2 separate regions of the Homo sapiens genome follow, and region 1 is linked to region 2. Evidence: promoter capture Hi-C in 16 types of primary human blood cells and fetal thymus (Javierre and others, 2016). All regions are on one chromosome and are shown on one strand. The core of a region is centred on a gene start or on the middle of the fragment in contact, and the rest is flanking DNA. Distances in the headings are between cores, read along the strand shown. Region 1 holds the start of ACP2 (acid phosphatase 2, lysosomal). Region 2 overlaps CKAP5 (cytoskeleton associated protein 5).

Evidence for each region. The method cuts DNA at HindIII sites, captures the fragments that hold promoters and counts their contacts. A CHiCAGO score of 5 or more calls a contact.
Region 1: the fragment with the promoter of ACP2 here is called in contact with a fragment that was not itself captured in region 2 in 1 of 17 cell types (erythroblasts); the score reaches 5.2 in erythroblasts.

The regions. Positions count from the first base shown.
Region 1 is chr11:47,245,918-47,250,734 of GRCh38, forward strand. ACP2 (acid phosphatase 2, lysosomal) reads right to left here and starts at 2,897. Exons shown (of 11, transcript NM_001610.4): 1 at 2,759-2,897; 2 at 2,121-2,216; 3 at 1,724-1,810. The coding sequence starts at 2,872. It also overlaps a transcript of NR1H3 not described here. RefSeq lists enhancers at 2,363-2,452, 2,583-3,092 and a silencer at 3,173-3,340. The HindIII fragment of the contact is 7,782 bases long and covers 1-3,457 here.
Region 2 is chr11:46,825,540-46,830,258 of GRCh38, forward strand. The region is part of intron 1 of CKAP5 (cytoskeleton associated protein 5); the gene reads right to left. Among named protein-coding and RNA genes, the nearest start is that of CKAP5, 18 kb to the right of the region's middle. RefSeq lists enhancers at 646-1,198, 1,199-1,749. The HindIII fragment of the contact is 1,112 bases long and covers 1,419-2,530 here.

The DNA.
Region 1 (4,817 bases), core at 1,647-4,146, 420 kb after region 2:
TTGTATGTATGTGTGTGTGTGTGGTGGGAAGTTTTGGTCACCCCAAAGTGGAGCCCCAGAGGAGAACCTGTTCCTGATGGTCACCCAGCAAACTAAACCTACCATACATCTGGCCCTCACCCTCCTCTGGCCTCTGGCCTTCCCCATCCCCCAAACACTCCACTGGGGGTTGTCACCACTCTGTGAAGAACTCTTGTGGGAATGGCCTTAGTTGAAATGCCCCTTCCAGTCAAAAGTGCTGAGTCAATCAGTAAGGCTCTCTGGTCTGTCTGGTTTCATAACAACACCTCTCTCCCTGTCTAGATCAGGGTCCTTGGGGCAGAAACTGGCTCCAGTGACGACCCTTAGAGACCAGGGAGAAAAAAATAAGATAAAGGGCTGGGCCTGGTGGCTCACACCTATAATCCTAGCACTTTGGGAGGCCAATGCAGGAGGATCGCTTGAGGCCAGGAGCTCGAGACCAGCCTGGGCAACATAGTGAGACCCTGTCTCTACAAAAAAAAATTTTTTAATTACCCAAGTGTGGCGGGCACTTGTAGTCCCAGCTACTTGGGATGCTGAGGCAGGAGGATCACTTGAGCCCAGGAGTTTGAGGCTGCAGTGAGCTATGACTGAGGCATGTGCTACAGTTTGGGTGACAGAGTGAGACCCCTTTAAAATATATGTATATATTTTGGGCCGGGCACGGTGGCTCATGCCTGTAATCCCAGCACTTTAGGAGGCCGAGGCAGGCGGATCAGCTGAGGTCAGGAGTTCAAGACCAGCCTGGCCAACATGATGAAATCCTGTCTCTACTAAAAATACAAAAATTAGCCAGGCATGGTGGCACACACCTGTAATCCCAGCTACTTGGGAGGCTGAGACAGGAGAATCGCTTGAACCTAGGAGGTGGAGGTTGCAGTGAGCCAAGACCATGTCACTGCACTCCAGCCTGAGCAACACAGCAAGACTCTGTCTCAAAAAAAAAAATTTTTTTTGAAGAGCTTATTCAGAGATAGTGGCTCATGAAAAGGGAGGAGGAAACTGGGGAAGGACAAGCTCAGGACAGAGCTGGGCCTTAAGAGAACAATAACAATGTCTATGGATTCTTGATACGGCTGAGGCTGACAGTGGTAATCAGAGGAACAGCTTCCCCCATTCCTGGGGTGGGGCGAAGACTCAAGGAGCAGGCACACTCACCAGTCCTCCCTGATGTGCCCTAGGAATATAGCACGACCTGGCGCAGCAGACAGGGCTCAAAAACCTCATCTTGATCAAGAAAAGACAAGCCCTCTCTACGCATGTCTTCCCCGCTGTCTTTCATCTTGGCCCTGTCTGGTTTATCATTAGATACCCCCACAACATTCTAAGCTCCATGAAGACAGAGATCATATCTGTATGGTGCACAACTGAATGCAAAGTGCTAGCACAGTCCTTGGCCTTTAATAGGTACTCAATGTCTTGGATGGAAAGCCTGTGATTTCACAGTCAGAAACCACTTTGCCAGGCCCGCCCTTAAGTCCGAATTTGGATGCTTAATCAAATTTGCCTCATCCCAGCCAAGCAGGGGCAACTCAGCTCCTAGGGCTTTGTTCCAGACAGCTCTCAGATGTCTTTTCCTGTAGTTGTGACCAAAAATACAAGAAGGAGGCCAAAGTGCCCAGCCTCAGCCTTAGGCTCCCTGAGGGCAAAAGATGAGGGCAGCATACCTTGTTCCCCTTGCCTCTGGAGCTCCCAACCTTACCTCTTGCCGGTGATAAGAGGTGTTTAGGAAGCCGTGATAGCGCTGCCGCAGGGCCTGGCCCAGTTCCCAGTGCTGTAGCATCCCCTCCTGTGGGCAAACCCAAGGGTTAAGAGGGTCTAGAGGGAAGGGGTGGCTTCAAGCCCCATGGGGTTTAGGCCCTGTTGCTTTCCAGGTTCACGCTTTGCTGGAGTCAATTAATCTGATCCCAGAAGTCTTTCATTAAGTGGCCAGTCATGCACAGCAATATCATGGGCACAGAGATTAAGGTTATGAAATCTGGTCAAAGTCAGCACCCATATGGGAAAAGGCAGTTTAGTAGGACCCCAAGTTTTGTAGACTGCTCTAGACGTCGCTCATTCTGCAGCTCATCCTGAGGAAAGGCTGGCTTCTGACCCACCTTGGTTAACTGACCAAACCCCTGGGGCCATTCTTCTTCCTGATAGGGGTCCTTGGGATATGTCTTCACTGGTGAACGGTCTCCATGGCGGTACAGCTGAGAGAATAAAATGGTTTGCCTATAGGTCAGAAGCATCCCCTTGATAGGGACCCAGAGCCTACCTTTTGCCCCATGTTAGGGAAGGAAGTCTCATTCCCTCTGGGAAGCCTACTGGCTGCAAAAGACCCCAGCTAGGAGTCAGTCACTTCTTCCAGATTCCAGAGATTCTAACTTAGCTAAGCAATGCTACTGGAGACCATAGGCAAAGCCAAGGTACAGGTAGGAAGGGAAAAGAGAAGTGAAAGCAACGTATGTGGTGGGGACAACTGGGGAAAAAAGATAACCAAAGGCTTCTTTAGGGATGAGTCTTAACCATTCAACCACTTCCCTGTCTCAAGGCAGACTCACCCCGACGTATTCGGTCATCCTGACTCCCATAAGCCAGGGCTCCAGGTCAATCCTGAATCCAGCCTCCCAACTACCCAGGCCAGTCGTCCCCTCCTAAACCAGCTGTTCCTTCCCGAGATCCTCGACCTCCACCAGCTGGCCTTTGCCCTTTTAGCTTCAGGGAAGTCTTTGGTGAGCCCATCTCTCATTACCAAGGTAACGAAGCGCAGACTCCGGGCCCGGGTGGGCGGCATCACCACCAGGTTCACGCCGAGAAGGAGCTGGAGGAGAGCCGCCCGGCTCCAGCCGGACCGCTTGCCCGCCATCACCGTTGTAATCTATGCAGCAAACAAGCTGGAACCCGCTGGGTGGCACCTGCAAGCAGCCGCCCGGACGCACCCGTAAGGACACACGCCGGAAGTGCGTTCGCCGCCATCTTACTTAGGGACCTGCTGGGGTGCGGGGAAAAGGCGCAGTCTCGGTGGGATTGCGTGCAGGAGGGTCGTGGTCTGGCTGTGGCGGAGGAGCATAAGAAGGTAACGCGACCTGGCGCGGCAGACAGGGCTCGAAGACCTCATCTTGATTAAGAAGGCCACAAATTCGCGTTTGCCTCTGCTCGGAGAAATCCCTTACCAAGGTGGCACTTGCAGTGGGCGGGACCATGTCTGGAGAACCAGCGTCCCCTCCAGGCTTGACCCCATAGCTAGATCGGGTGCAGAATTGAGGCGAGGGATGGGAAAGTAGAGGTCGCTTCTCTCCACGCCCCTGCCTTTGTGGGGAGATTGAGCCCTGGCCCTGTTCTCCAGGAGATGTTTTGCTTGGGGTGCAGGACACAGTATGTAAACAACCCTTTGGACTCCGTGTGTCCTTGAGGTTGCCCCAGTCTGGCCTACCGTTCCTGCCCTGCACAAAGCTTCAGTAGCCCTCTCACTTTCCCTTCCAGTCCTTTCCCTGTCCTCCCTCCCCTCCACTTCCAAGTTTTAGTTAATTAGAGTCAAGACGTCATGTCATGCCTCTTCCCAAAGGAGTTGGGTTGCACAGGATGTTCAGACTTTACAAACCCAAAGCACTGAATCCCTGGGGGAGGAATTTCAGACCAGTGGGGAGGTATTTTGAGGTAAGGGACAGGCGCATATCATAAAGTGGGAGTAGGTGGGGTTTCCACAGAATCAATGGCCCTCTTGGCATTGACCATTAGGATTCAGGTGCAGCCAGTTTGGCCTCAGGACTTTGTGACTCCTGTGACGGTTGCAGGTCAGATCATAGGTCCTGGGGATGCTTTGATTCAGATCTGCCTACTGGAAGCAAATCTCCTCAGATCTTTGGGAAACAAAACTGATCAGGCTTGGCCTGGGCGCCGTGGCTCACCTGTAATACCAGCACTTTGAGAGGCCGAAGCAGGCAGATCACCTGAGGTCAGGAGTTCGAGACCAGCCTGGCCAACGTGGCGAAACCCCGTCTCTACTAAAAATACAAAAAAAAAAAAATTAGCCGGGTGCAGTGGCGTGCTCCTGTAATCCCAGCTACTCTGGAGGCTGAGGCAGGAGAATCGCTTGAACTCGGAAAGCGGAGGTTGCAGTGAGCTGAGATCACGCCACTGCACTCCAGCCTGCGCGACAGAGTGAGACTGTCTCAAAACAACAACAACAAAAACCTGATTAGGCTTGGTGTGGTGGCTCACGTTTCTAATCCCAGCACTTTGGGAGGCCAGGGTGGGAAGATTGCTTGAGCCCAGGAGTTGGAGACCAGCCTGAGCAGCTTAGGAAGATCTCCTCTCTACAAAAAAAAGTTTAAAAATTAGCTGGGTGTGGTGGCACACACCTGTGGTCCTAGCTCCTCGGGAGGCTGAGGTGGGAGGATCACCTTCAGCCCAGGAGGTTGAGGCTGCAGTGAGCCATGATGGTGCAACTGCACTCCAGTCTAGATGACAGAGCAAGACTGTGTCTCAAAAAGAAGAAAAGAAAAAAAAAGATCAGGATTATCTGTCTTTATTTTGTCCTAGGACTCCAGATTCAATTATTTATATATACTTCAGGATTTAAACTTTGCTTCCAGAGTTGTCATGGAGGAGGCCAAGAAGCAAATAGAGTAAGAGCCAAAGCCTGGGTAGCCAAACAGTTCTTAACCTTCTTATTTAATCACAAGCCCCTTTATGAATCACATGAAAATTTTGCACCTCTCCTCCAGAAAAATGTTCACACATATAAACACACACATGGAATTTTGCATATAATCCCAAATGGTTCACAAAGACCATTTATTACAGGTTTC
Region 2 (4,719 bases), core at 725-3,224:
TTATGGCAAATTCCCAAGCTCTTGACCTACAAAAGCTCTTCACTATCACAATACAAGAGATCTGAATTTGATTACCATTCCTGGACTCTCACCTCTGGCTAAGGAGATGCTATTGCAGAAGCACAGAATGATTTTAACAGAAGTTTGAGAAAAACTTCTGCTCCATCAAAAAGCAACCCATTTGAATGACCACTGAGTGTGATGATAGGCTCATAAAAAAAAAAAAAGAAATTATTTTTTTAAAAAAGCAATGCATACACATGCCCAGAAATCTACTCAAACCATGTCTAGGAAGGACAACTGGATTAAAGAAACACAACAACTATGTAACTGTCATAGAAAACTTAAGATTTTTATTATTTAACCAAAATCTGACAAAATCCCATCTCTGAGTAGCAGGTGGCAAAAATGACAACACTTTCCCTCAAATTAAAAAAAAAACTCACTGTCTCCAGGTATTTCCCATTAACAAGGACAAGTGTTATCCTCTTGCCGGAGTATTCTGCATTACCAGGCGGCCAGAAATCTGAACAGTTTTCTAGCAGATTATCTCAAACTTTGGTGTGTTTGCTTTCCTAATCTTGGGACAGTGGCGTCCCACAAATTCCTTCAGAGATGGAGAGGGGTAAAGAGCTGTCTCTTTCACATTGTGCTCTTTATATCAGGAGGAAAGGTTAACTGGACTCTTCCTAAGAGATGTTCACTGTCAACATATCCAAAAGGGGTACGGGATACCACCAACACAGGCCTCTGGAGAGACAGCTAAACCTGGCTGTGAATTAGGACAACTTGGAGTTACTGCTCGACTGTACCAAGGTAGCTGAAAACCTAATGCTTACTCATCCCAAAGCTACCAAGGTCTTCAAATACCAGGGTAAGGATCCAAGGCCCAGAGAGAGAGATTCAGCTCCACCCATTCAGCTCAAATGGGTTATACTCTGGTAAAAGCAACCCTCTCCTCACCCCAAGTAAGAACCAGGTGGGGGCAAAGCCAGGTCGTGGGCACTGCTCACCCACTGCATGCCCAAACAAGCACCCTACGGCTGCTGTCACCACCCAGAAGTAGAGCAGATACCCTGGCTTTAGCTCACTGGAGCCGGCATTGTTTACGCTCTTTCGCCGCCTTAGCCTCTGATAGGCCAGCAAAGTCCCCAGTACTGTCCACCAGGACTTGCAGCACGGTCGCGGGATGCTTGCCCTTTGCCCGTGGTTTGACACTTACGCTCCCCGGGCAGGGAGAGGTCAGGGAAGCTAAGGTCCGAGCAGGATCAGCAGGAATACCCGGCAGGCGGCGGCGGCGGCGGCAGCAGCATTGGTGCTGCGGTCCGCTGGGAAACGCCTCCTCCGAGGGCGGGGCCCGGAGCGCCACTGTCAGAGTGCCCGCCCCACCCTCAGCTCCCCTCTCCGCACACTCTGAAAGCTTAAAGGGGCCGCAGTGTATCTTCGCCCAGAGGTTTGCAGGCCTCAGGCGCTGCTTCTAGGTCCTAGGCTTTCCCAGGCAAGAGGCAAATGATGGACCAACTAGGAAGACTACTGCAGTTGGGTGGACCTCTTTTTTTGGTAGTATTACACGTAATATTCCAGAAACAAAGGAGATGACCAGTTCCCACTATCACAATCCTAATCCCTCCTCCAAGGGTGAAAAAAATTACTGCAGGTAACAGCCAAAGCATCAAGGTAGATACATAGCCCCTCATTATATGTAAGCTGCTTACTTCATTAACCTCCTTTGGACTCGAGCAGTTCTTCAAATGGCAACTCAAAGGCCTGGAAAAGATCCTACAATGCTCCACCTCACCTTTTCACGGAATTCGTTCTTTACAAAACTGGAGGAATCCTGGACAATGATACAAGATGGGCAGGAAGGTAATAGAAGGTGAAATAGAAAAATACCAGCCTGGGCAACAAAGTGAGACCCCATCTCTACAAAAAATAAAAAATTAGCTGGGCATGGTGGTACAAGACTAGTCCCAGCTACTCCGGAGGCTGAGGTGGGAGGATCCTGAGCCCAGGACTAGGCTGCAGTGAGCCAGACTGCACCACAGCACTCCACCCTGAACAACTAACCAAAACCATACCTCTATAAAAGAAAAAAAGAAAAATAACCTTCCCCATCTTGTGTGTAAAATGTGATCTTTCAAAAATTGACCTAAAAGTCAACGTAAATAAATGTACAAGTCTATGTAAGTAATCTTGCATGCCAATACAATTGTAATGTGCAATCATCTAATTTAATATGAAGAGTTCTTAAGAAAATTGTAGTAGAAACGGCATTAATATTTCAAGGAGTTAAGTCCTAGTCTCTGAGATCTCCAAAGGTTAGCAACTAGTTTTAATTTTCTTTTTGTAGGAGGAGTTTGTCCTGAATCCTAGTTTACAAGGTTTGACTGCATTTTGTGTCTCCCATCATACCAACAGGAAAGATATGTGCTTTTTTTAAGTCCATATTACTCCACCTAATTTAGATGAATCAACACACCTCCTTAAAGCCTTGGGCCATCATCAGATCAGTACAGGAATCAATGTAGTAAGCTTAAAGACCATTTGTAAGTAACCCAATTTCTCCTATCCACAACAGGAATAAAGCAGAAATTTAAGAATCCAAAGAACAGTTATGAAGATTGCTCCACCAGGGAGCAGACTCAGGTTACTCTTATTCTGAAGGTTTTAGAGAACCCTAAGCTAAAGTTGCCAAGTATCTTTTCCTTACTTGGGTGGGGGCGGGGTAGATAAATAAATAAAGTTGCCAAGTAAAAAATGGATTCAGATTAAAACAGTCTGATTTTTGAACTGCCAAGACAGTCTCATTCTACAATGCATTTAACTGTAAAGAATACCTCTGAATTAGGTAATTAAGACCTTCATTCATTATATTCCCATCAAGCTTAACTGTTCTGAGGGTAATGGTTTGCAGATCAGCCTTTCTCATCAGATTGTGAGTTCCTCAAGGGCAAGGGCTGGAATGTATCTTAATTATCTTTTTCTTCCAATGTGTGATACAAAATAAGTACCCAACAAATATTTATCACAAGAGGTATGACCAACATTTTCTGTTACATAGCATTCTAGTGACATAGGACTTCAGTTAACTGCAATAAACATAGTACAATGAGTGTATGTGTGTATGCACACACAAATGGATAATACCCTGTGCTGTGCTTATGAGCGAATTAAACATTTTAAAAATTAGAGAAAAAAATCTACTAACAGTCACAAAAAAAGTCAAATACTGTATGAACCCACTTTTATGAGGTATGCAGTCAAATTCATGAATTCATAGAACCAGAAAGTAGAATGGTAGTAACCAAAGATGGGGTGGGGGTGTGGCTTGGGAGGGGGATAAGAGAAATATTTAGATACAGAGTTTCAGATTAGCAAGATGAGAAAGTTCTGGAGATCTGTTTCATAACGATGTGAATATACTTAACACTATTGAACTGTACACTTAAAAATGGTTAAGATGGTAAATTTTATACTATTGTTTTTTACCATACACAAAAAATGAGACATTCGTCTATACAAAAATTGCTTTGCAAATATTTAAAGTAAACAAAAGATGATATGGAAGACAGAAGTAAATATATAAATACAGTTGACCCTTGAACAACATGGATTTGAACTGCACGGGTTGACTTGCATGTGAATTTTCTTCTGCCCCTGTCACCCTTAAGACAGCAAGACCAACCCCTCCTCTTCCTCAGCCTATTCGACATGAGGATGACAAGGATGAAGACCTTTATGATGATCCACTTCCATTTAATGAATAGTAAATATATTTTCTACTTACTGGGCAATAAAGTCTTACTTTACTTAAAAGACAGTCTACTTACTGTCTCTAAAAATAAATACAAAAAATTATCTGGGCCTGGTGGCACATGCCTGTTAGTCCCAGCTACTCGGGAGGCTAAGGTAGAAGGATTGCCTGAGCCCAGAAAGAGTGAGCCAAGAGGGGACCACAACACTCCACCCTGAACGATGGAGCGAGAAAAAATATTTTTCCTCCTTCTGATTTTCTTAACATTTTCTTTTCTCTAGCTTACTTTACTGTAAGAATACAATATATAATACATATACAAAATATGTGTTAAACAATTATGTTATCAATAAGGCTTCTGGTCAACAGTAGGCTATTAGTAAAGTTTTGGGGGTGTCTAAAATTATATGTGAAGTTCCCACTGCACAGGGGGATCCCTAACGTTGGCATTGCTCAAGGGTCAAATGTGCCTATGTGGAAGAAATCCATTAAGTTTTAAGAAGAAATTTGCAAGACAGTATATGAAGTCTAATTCCTTTTTTGTATGTGTGTGTGTGTGTGTGTGTGTGTGTGTGTGTGTGTGTGTGTGTATCTCACATACACATTTACATATGCATTTGTGTAGGCTGATAATGACCCCCAAAGAAATCACGTTGTAATCCCTGGGACTTGTAAATGTTACTTTATTTGGAAAAAGGGTCTTTGCAGATGTGATTAAATTAAGGATCTTGAGATGGGGGGATTACCCTGGATTGTTTGGGTGGGTAAAGGCAATCACATATATCATTATGGGCAAGACGGAGGGAGATTTGACCCAATGGAGAAAGTGATATGAAGAGGGATCAGAGAAAGATTAGAATAGAGTAGGCCGGGCACGGTGGCTCACGCCTGCAATCCCAGAACTTTGGGAGTCCAAGGCAGGCAGATCACAAGGTCAGGAGGTCGAAACCATCCTGGCTAACACG